3 separate regions of the Homo sapiens genome follow, and regions 1 and 3 are each linked to region 2. The links are contacts of gene promoters, found by promoter capture Hi-C in human tissues and cell types (Jung and others, 2019). All regions are on one chromosome and are shown on one strand. The core of a region is centred on a gene start or on the middle of the fragment in contact, and the rest is flanking DNA. Distances in the headings are between cores, read along the strand shown.

Evidence for each region. The method cuts DNA at HindIII sites, captures the fragments that hold promoters and counts their contacts. A contact is called where the count stands out against the background at its distance.
Region 1: a contact is called between a fragment that was not itself captured here and the fragment with the promoter of NBR1 in region 2, in 2 of the 25 tissues and cell types used here (lymphoblastoid cells and pancreas).
Region 3: a contact is called between a fragment that was not itself captured here and the fragment with the promoter of NBR1 in region 2, in 1 of the 25 tissues and cell types used here (lymphoblastoid cells).

The regions. Positions count from the first base shown.
Region 1 is chr17:43,033,372-43,036,532 of GRCh38, forward strand. No RefSeq gene overlaps it. Among named protein-coding and RNA genes, the nearest start is that of RND2, 9.7 kb to the left of the region's middle. RefSeq lists a silencer at 2,921-3,161. The HindIII fragment of the contact is 5,034 bases long and covers 1-3,161 here.
Region 2 is chr17:43,169,825-43,172,576 of GRCh38, forward strand. NBR1 (NBR1 autophagy cargo receptor) reads left to right here and starts at 1,390. Exons shown (of 21, transcript NM_005899.5): 1 at 1,390-1,478. LOC101929767 (a long non-coding RNA gene) reads right to left here and starts at 579. Exons shown (of 2, transcript NR_110868.1): 1 at 302-579. It overlaps LOC124900391 (a long non-coding RNA gene), which reads right to left and starts at 1,140. Exons shown (of 2, transcript XR_007065760.1): 1 at 592-1,140. It also overlaps a transcript of BRCA1 not described here and the pseudogene BRCA1P1. RefSeq lists enhancers at 211-420, 691-740, 991-1,100, 1,421-1,530. The HindIII fragment of the contact is 14,047 bases long and covers 1-2,752 here.
Region 3 is chr17:43,013,287-43,016,346 of GRCh38, forward strand. It overlaps IFI35 (interferon induced protein 35), which reads left to right. Exons shown (of 7, transcript NM_001330230.2): 4 at 1-87; 5 at 190-376; 6 at 490-596; 7 at 822-1,170. The coding sequence ends at 1,013. VAT1 (vesicle amine transport 1) reads right to left here. Exons shown (of 6, transcript NM_006373.4): 5 at 3,021-3,060; 6 at 1,321-2,858. The coding sequence ends at 2,775. Among named protein-coding and RNA genes, the nearest start is that of VAT1, 7.6 kb to the right of the region's middle. The HindIII fragment of the contact is 4,481 bases long and covers 1-3,060 here.

The DNA of each region.
Region 1 (3,161 bases), core at 561-3,060, 140 kb before region 2:
TGCTGGGATTACAGGCGTGAGCCACCTCGCCCAGACTAGTGTTTCTTAACCTAGGCAATCCGCCTGCCTAGGAGGGAGGAGGGGGAAGGACAGGGTGGATGGGAAGAGAGGACTCAATCAAACTCCTGAAACACTTCAGCTGACAAGGGTCCTCCCCTTGTGACTCTGGCCCTCCCAGGGGGTAGTCGTGGGAAGAGCTTCAGGTTCAGAGGCAGAAGTCCCAGGGCCTGGGTTGAGCTCTGCTGCTTCTTCCCTGGGGAATCTTTGGTGAGGCCCAGCACCTCTCTGAACCTCAGTTTTTGCACCTAGAAAAGGGGGCTGATCACCACATCTACCTCATTGTGTTGCTCAGCTGATGTCAACTTTTATTCTTTACAACCAAGACACCAAGGCTTAAGTGCTTCTAAGCTGGGCCTGAGGGAGTTGGGAAAGGCTTCTTGGAGGGGTATTTTGTGCTGGGACTTAAAGGCTGGAGGAAGACAGAAGACAGAAAGCAGGAGGTGGTTATGTCTTGTTCCCACCCCTATCTTGGGGCCTGAAGAGAGCTTTAGTGACTCCTCCAAAGATTGAGGTCCCTCCCTGCCAAATCCCCCTCTGCGAGAAACACCCAAGAATGATCAATAAAAAAAAATAAATAAATTGAAAAAAAAAAAAAAAGATTGAGGTCCCTTGGTCTCCATTTTTCTGAACTCCTCTTATTACGTTTTCTGCAGTCTCTGGGTGAGGACTTCATGTTGCCATAGTGACCCTCTCCCTGCTTCAGATGCACTCAGACTTGTCCTGCAGGCTGAGGAAGGTGTGGGGGGAGGGGTCATGTCCCTGAGATTCCCAGTGGGGCAGGCACTCTTGGCACAGCTCTCTCCCCCAACTCCACATTCTCTTCCCCAGGAAAGGGTTTAGCGTTTTGTTCTCAGTTTGTTCTACACAAGGCAGCTCCTCTCCTGCTTCCTTCCTTCCAGCCAGGTTCCCAGATCTCCCTCCATCTCTGTCTGGTCAATCCCTTACTTGCTGTCCTCAAAGCTGTGAGTGAGGGTCAGAGAGAGGGGAGGCTCCAGGTCGGGAGGTGTGGGATGATTCCTGAGTAGCTACCCGCTAGCAGCGGAGAGACAAGAGAGCCCTGTACACTAGTGCCCCTCCCGACAAGAAAATGCCTCTGCTGTTGACTCCTAAATAACAGATGTCTGTCTGCATATTAATGAGACTGGACGAATAATTGGTGAGTTTTTCATTCAGTGTCAGAATGAACCCGGAGGCCTTATGTTCATGCACACAGACACCCACTCACCCCTGACTCTCCCCTTCCCCCACAGCACAATGAAACAGACGCCAGCAGGCTTGACCCATAAAGGGGAGGGGCAGACAGGGAACCACCAGGAGGGCTGTTAGGGAGGGGTGTTAACAGGAGGGAGACCCCCATGGTTGGTCTGGGTTTGTCAGGTTTCTTTCTTGATCACTGCCTCCCCACCTCCCTGGGGGCAAAAGCTTGCATTTGTGAGATTTCGCCACGCTGCAGAAGGGGCTCAGAGAAGGAGGGGGCTCTGGGGGGACGCAGTCGCTGCCTAGAGGACAGCAACAAAACAGTGGTCTCCTTCAGTGACTTTGTGCCTCCCTTGCGCCTGAAATCAATGAGCCCCTTACCCTGAGTTAGACCCTGTGCCAGGGTGTGAGATGGAAGAACAGAGGTTTTGGAGTCAGGTAACTACAATTTGCTAGCTGGGTGCCCTTGCACAAGTTACTTAACCTCTCTGAGCCTCACCCTTTTTGTCTCTAAGAACACCTACCTTGCAAGATTGAAAGGATGAAATGAGATAAAGTGCATTATGTGTCTGTCTTAGTGCCTGGTTTATAATAGGCCCCAACACATATTTTTCTCTCCCCACCTATCCCCAAAACAAACCAAGACACTTGCTAAATTGCTGCCTCATGCCAGACCCACCTTTGTTAGGGCAGGGGTTAATTAAAAGTCTAGTAATTATCCTAGCTGCCTGGAAACCAAGAGGAAAAGATACAGAGAGGAACAGAAACAGAGAAAAAGAAATAGACCCAGGAGACAGAATGATGGAAACGAAGGCCCCGGGAACAGGAGACCACAGAGATGGGAATAAGGGCACAGAGAAGGTATTATGGGGAAACGAAGTGAACCCTCAAATGACAGTTTAGAATCCAGGCCTGGTGCAGTGGCTCACACTTGTAATCCCAGCTATTCAGGAGGCTGAGGTGGGAGGATCACTTGAACCCAGGTGAGACCAGCCTGGGCAACATAGGGAAACACTGTTTCTAGAAAAAATAAAAGAAATAAAAATTAGCTAAGCGTGGTGGCACATACTTATAGTCCTAGCTACTCAGGAGGCTGAGGTGGGAGGATCACTTGAACCAGGAGTGTGAGGCTGTAGTGAGCAGTGATCATACCACTGCACTCTAGCCTGGATGACAGAGTGGAACCCTATCTCAAAAAAACAAAACAAAACAAAAACCAAACAGGCCCAGTGCTGTGGCTCACACCTGTAATCCTAGCACTTTGGGAGGCCAAGGCTGGAGGATCACTTGAGCCCAGGAGTTCGAGAAAAATGTGGGCAACACAGTGAGACCTTGTCTCTACAAAAAATTAGCCAGGTGTCGTGGCCCACAGAAAGTTGAGGTGGGGGGATCACTTGAGCCTGGGAGGTAGAGGTTGCAGTGAGCTGAGATTGTGCCACTGTACTACTCCAGCCTGGGTGACAGAGCGAGACCTTGTCTCAAAGAAAAAGGATCCAGAGGTTAGAGTTTAAAATGCTTAGTTTTGCTATGTTCTTGCTGTTTGACCACAGCAAGGCTCACCTCCTCTCAGCACCTCAGTCTCTTCTTCTATAAAGTGAAGCGGTGATTTGCTCTCTAAGGTCCCTTCTCATTGTGTGAGAACAAGAGTCCCAGTGGCCTGGGAGCACAGGGGAGGGGAGGCGGCTGCCCACCCTTCAACACTATTACCCATCGGTCACTTGTGCTCTGTCTCCTCTCTCCCTTGGTAAATGGATCTGCTGCGCCAGCAAACAACTGTCCATTGTGTCCTGATGAGGGACGAGCAGGGAAAACCAATCACTTATGATGCAAATGAGCCGACGGCTGCAGCCTCCTCACATTCACTGAGTGCTTCTCTTCTGCCCAGAGCCCGGCGCCGCCCCAGT
Region 2 (2,752 bases), core at 140-2,639:
CTGTCCCCCGTCCAGAACGTCTCAGCGAGCTCACGACGCGCAGTCACGTTTTTTTCCCCCCCTCTACACTGCAGATGTGGCTCCCAATGTTGACGTTGGCCAGGACCTTTGCAAACAAGCCAGGCCAAAAAGTTTCAATATTTACACTGGCTGCTTTAATAAGGGCATTGATCTTATCCTCCGTAAAGGTCACCTCATAGTCCTGCAGAATGAGGGCAGAGTAGATGCAGGCAAGCTGGGAGACGGAGGCCATAGCGCGGGCGAGTGTGGGGCTGGGGCTGCCGGACGCGGTGCTACTCACCGGATGAAGTGAGGGTCTCACCCCAACGCGGCCTTAGCTTCCTCGGAAGGACCGAACACCTTGGCGGCAGCCGAGGAAAGGGGTTCCACAGTTTTAATTTATCTGTAATTCCCACGCTTTACTGTTGCCACGGAAACCGCTGAGCAATAGCCTCTCAGAATAGGAAATCAAGACACAGTCAGAGGAAGGGCGGGACAGAAAGAGCCTAGCATCTCTCGGGGCTCTGGGTTGGCCACCCAGTCCTCCCCTGGTGACATAAAAAGAAAGAGACGGAAAAGGAAGAATTCTACCTGAGTTCGCCGTAAAGCGCCCGCCCTCTCGCCTCTACGCTTCCAGTTGCGGCTTATTACGTCACAGTAATTGCTGTACCAAGGTCAGAATCGCCACCTGAGGCCTGAATATCAGCGTAAGATAGTGTCCAAAGCAGTCTTAAGAAGAGGTCCCATTACCCCACTCTTTCCGCCCTAATGGAGGTCTCCAGTTTAGGTAAATAAAAGGATTGTTGGGAGGTGGAGGGAAAGAACTACTATTTCCAACATGCATTGCGGAACGAAAGGCCTTGGCCACACTGTTCCTTGGAAACTGTAGTCTTATGGAGAGGAACATCCAATACCAAAGCGGGCACAATTCTCACGGAAATCCAGTGGATAGATTGGAGACCTCCGCGGGCTTATACATGTCAACAGTAATGGATTGGAGTGTTGTTATGTTCTCCTATCTTGAGAGCAGAGACTAGGCCAAAAAAAGATACCTACAACTCCTAGGAAGACTACGATTCCCATCCAGCCCCACGAGTCTCGGGCAAGTAGTCCTCTAAGGTCAGTGGCCTGCGGGGACGCAGTGGGCGCCGAATTTGCCTGGGGAAGGGGAAATCCGCTCTGGCCCACATCTGCGCACTCCTAGTTCCGCCCCTCAGCCTCAATGTTTGTTATTGTTGTTCGGGTTCAGGTTGCTTCTGCCCCGCCCCATCGACGCAATCTCCACCAATCAATGGCGTGGTCGTTTTGAGGGACAAGTGGTGAGAGCCAATCATCTTGGCGAACACTCGGAGAAACAGGGGACTAGTTACTGTCTTTATCCGCCATGTTAGATTCACCCCACAGGGATAGCGGCAGAGCCGGTAGCGGACGGTCCTTGCATTGGCCTCCGGCAGGCGCCCCCCGGGGGCGGGAAGCTGGTAAGGAAGCAGCTGCGGTTACCTAGGGGTGGGGTCACGTCACGCTAAGAGGGTTTGGGGAAGTTCAAGGGAGGAATCCTGCAAAGAAGAGGGGCGACTTTTTCCGTGTTTCGGGACAGCTAATCTTTTTAGTGACAGGATGAGAGAGCCCTTCATGTTCAGAGGGACCGAGTTGGCGAGAAGCGCCGGAGAGTTGGAGAGTCTGTGGGTCAGAACATCCGGCTTCTACTGATGGAAGGCCACGACTCCCCAGTGGAATGAGGGCCTAGGCAAAGAAAATGAGAGAGCCCTCGGGGTAGTGACACTGTCTTGGGAACATGGAGTGCTAGGAAACGAAAACTGGAAGACTAGGATGAACTCTGCAAGTAAAAAAATGACACTACTTACACATCCTTCTCATCCCATCCTCGTTTTTTCGAGACCTTAAAGAGATCTCCTTGGTTAGGGACCTTCGGTTTTGGAAAGGCACTGTTTTTCCTTTTTGTCAAACACTCAGCTTTCAGGCCACACTTTTTTGAGACAGAGTCTTGCTTTCTCAAAGACCAACCCAGGCTGGGCTTGAACTGCTGAGCTCAAGCGATCCTCGTGCCTTGGCCTCCCAAAGTGCTGGGATTACAGGTATAAGCCACCGCTCCCGGCCTCAGGTCACACATTTTAAAGCCTGGATAACTTGGCTTGTAAAGGCCTCTGGTGGAGACAGTAATCAAAGCTCAGGTTGCCAGGTCTGTTTCATTAAAGGGATTTTGTTGAGGCTGAAAAAAAAATCGACGTGGAGGAAAAGCTAACTTGTGCCAAGCAAAGGTGAGTCAGTGGCATGGACTTACAATAATGCCAGTTATGAAAGCTGAAGGCCTAAGACCCAGCTATCTGACTCTACTGGCTGTAGACCTAAGGGGCAGATAGGGTTAACCATAGCTTTGGTGTTTACACACGTTTAAGATTAATGCTCCTGCTGAAAGAATTTTTTTACATGTCAGCCAAAGAGAGTTCCTTATGAAGACCTGGATATGGTCCAGCCAAGCTAGAATCTCCCACTTCCTGTTTTCTCTTAGTTGGCCCACCAGCTGGAGGAGCTCCAGAGTATCTAAATTTCCAATTGTGTAATTTGAGAAAAAGAGAGGAAGATTCATTTCCTTCACAAGTAGGGAAGTGTGTTTCTTGAAGTTGGAAAGTGATATTTCAGAATACCCACTTTTGGCGGACTGAGTCACTTCATTTCCTTGATTTTTTGCCTAAGGTCCTGGGGAATTGACAAAGATTCTCAAATTTTAAGG
Region 3 (3,060 bases), core at 332-2,831, 160 kb before region 2:
CAAAAGGAGCACACGATCAACATGGAGGAGTGCCGGCTGCGGGTGCAGGTCCAGCCCTTGGAGCTGCCCATGGTCACCACCATCCAGGTGATGGTATGACAGAATCCTGGGGCATGCAAAGCATGCCATGCACCTGGGCATGGGGAAGTGGAGCTGTGTCTGGGACCACCCCTTGCTGTCTCCCCCTAGATGTCCAGCCAGTTGAGTGGCCGGAGGGTGTTGGTCACTGGATTTCCTGCCAGCCTCAGGCTGAGTGAGGAGGAGCTGCTGGACAAGCTAGAGATCTTCTTTGGCAAGACTAGGAACGGAGGTGGCGATGTGGACGTTCGGGAGCTACTGCCAGGGAGTGTCATGCTGGGGTTTGCTAGGGATGGAGGTGAGGGCTATGCAGGCCTCCTGCAGGGGAGAGGGTATAGGGTGTGCAAGATTACGGTGCAGGGAGAGGAGAGGGCTTGATGCTAAAGGCCCACCCCTCCTTGCTCCCCACAGTGGCTCAGCGTCTGTGCCAAATCGGCCAGTTCACAGTGCCACTGGGTGGGCAGCAAGTCCCTCTGAGAGTCTCTCCGTATGTGAACGGGGAGATCCAGAAGGCTGAGGTAAGCAGGAGGGGTGAAGAACAGGGGCTGGGCTGGGTAACCTGTCTGCCTGCCAGGAACTTGCCCAATGAAGGATCAGAGGCCCCAAACCCCACTGACCTACCTACCCACCATCAGCCTCTCCAGGCCTCCCGACCTCATACCCCCATGGGGCACTGCCTGCCCTACCCCCAGCCCCCAGCCCTTCTCCCATGAGCCTTTGCCATCTCCTGGCTCCTTTTCCAGATCAGGTCGCAGCCAGTTCCCCGCTCGGTACTGGTGCTCAACATTCCTGATATCTTGGATGGCCCGGAGCTGCATGACGTCCTGGAGATCCACTTCCAGAAGCCCACCCGCGGGGGCGGGGAGGTAGAGGCCCTGACAGTCGTACCCCAAGGACAGCAGGGCCTAGCAGTCTTCACCTCTGAGTCAGGCTAGGGGCCTCCCCTTCTCATCCTCCCCACCCCCCCGCCAAGGTTCTCACACTGGCCTGGGCTTGGGTGCCCATATAGGAGGTCTGTATGTTCACCAACAGTGCGGAGGGGTCACACATTGCAAAACACTGCCCAGAACAGTAAAAAGAGCCTGCATGCCATGATGTTCTTCCTCATTTCACTCATGAAAGGAAACGTGATTTGGGCATGGAAAGAGGCAGGGGGCAGGAAGCAGCCCAGATCTTCTGCTGGCAGCACTAGCCTTCCAGGAGCTCACCTTCCCTCCACTCTCAGAGGCAACAAGCAGGACCCAGGGTTTGGCTTTTTATTGACACAAACACACAAAGGCAGCTGTGGTAATGGGGTGGTGGGGTACACAAAAGCAGAAATCGCACTTCACACATTTAGGCCTCATTTAGACAATGAGGAGGCTGAGCCTGTCCCTCCACCTCCCATTGCAATGGTTGGGGCAATAACCCTCCCTAATCCTAGCTCAGTGAGTAGAGGGAGTGACCTCCCTACCCAGGAAGTCCCCATTTTGGTTGCAATGGCCCAGGTCCTGACCATCCCACTCTGTACTTCCCTGCTCCATCTCCCCACCCATGTAAACAGAGTTTTGGGCTGAGTTTGATAAGCTGCCTCTCTGCTTTGAGAAGGCAGTAGGGCCTCCCCTAACTGCAAGGGGAATGTGCTTGGATTTTTACTTTGGTCCCAGTACAAGAAACAGACAGCACTGCCTTTCAGAGCTCTGGCTAGTAAATGCCACACATATCTGCAAGGCTGAGGAAGCTTCCCCGCCTTTCTCCTCAACCACCATAGAGACGGGACATGGCACAGACCACGATGAGGGCACCTGTTTTTGCCCTGCCTCCCCAGGAGGCTTGGGGCTGCCCCACCCAATGGCACATACACAGATTTTTGGCAGTGTTGTGGGACTGGGGAGGAGAGAAACCCCAGCTCCACCAGAACAAGGAAGGCACTGGGGAGTACAGGGGAGGAGAAGGAGGTGGGAAACAGGATCCTCCCTCCCCGCCGCCACACACACACAAGCACAGGTTTTCGTTGCTAAGGCACTGAGAACAAATCCAGAGAACTCAGTGAAGGGTGGGGGCTCTGTATCCTTCCCAGAGTTGTGACCTAGGGGAGTAGGTCTGATTCCCGCCCTGTTGGAAGAGGCAGCCTTGGTTAAGAATGGCAGAAAACCTGGAGATGGAAGAAGCCCAATTGTGCTTAAGAAGTTGGGGACAGAGGACGAGATTGGGAACTGGTCAAGCCCAGAGGCGGGCACTGGTCAGCCCAGGCTGAAGGGACACTAGGGAGAGACAGGTACATGCTGGACTCACAGAGATTGGCCCCATATCCTGAGCTGACGTTTCAATTCTTTGGGGAGGTGGCGGGGCAGGGACGGGAGGAAAGATGAGGCAGAGGTGAAAGCACATGGAACACAACAGGGGGGACTGGCTAACCTTGGCACAAAAGCAGCACAGCAGGCCCGGGGAAAGGGTGGGGGCAGGAAGCAGCCGGCCTCCCTCTGACCCTCCCTGTCGCCTTGGCAGGGCCCAGACATCCAAATGGTCACTTCCCAACCTCTTCAGAGGTCAGGAAGCGGGGAGGGGCAGGGGAGAGCGGTCATCACCACAGAGACCTTCGGGGGAGGGAGGGCAGAGCATTATGACAGAGGCTGAAATGCAAGTCTGGTGGCCAACAGAACGTAGCTTCCCAACTTCTCCCTTCGCTGGTCTCTAGGGTCTCACAGCCACTTGCCCTAGTTCTCCTTCTCTGGCCCTGGAACCAGGAGGACCTTGCCCACATTCTTCTTCTCCTGCATCTGTTTCATGGCATCAGCCACCTGGGGAGGAAGGAAAGATGCGGCTCCCAGTGCTATCCAACCCTCATCCAACAAGAGCCAGTGTGATGCAGGCAGCCCTCCTCTTCCCCAGGAATCTGCCCCTTGGGACCCCAGCCTTCATGAGTCCTACCCAAGCCCTCCCTGCAAAGTCCTCACATTCACCTTCTCGAAGGGCCAGACTGAGTCAATGTGGGGCTTGATG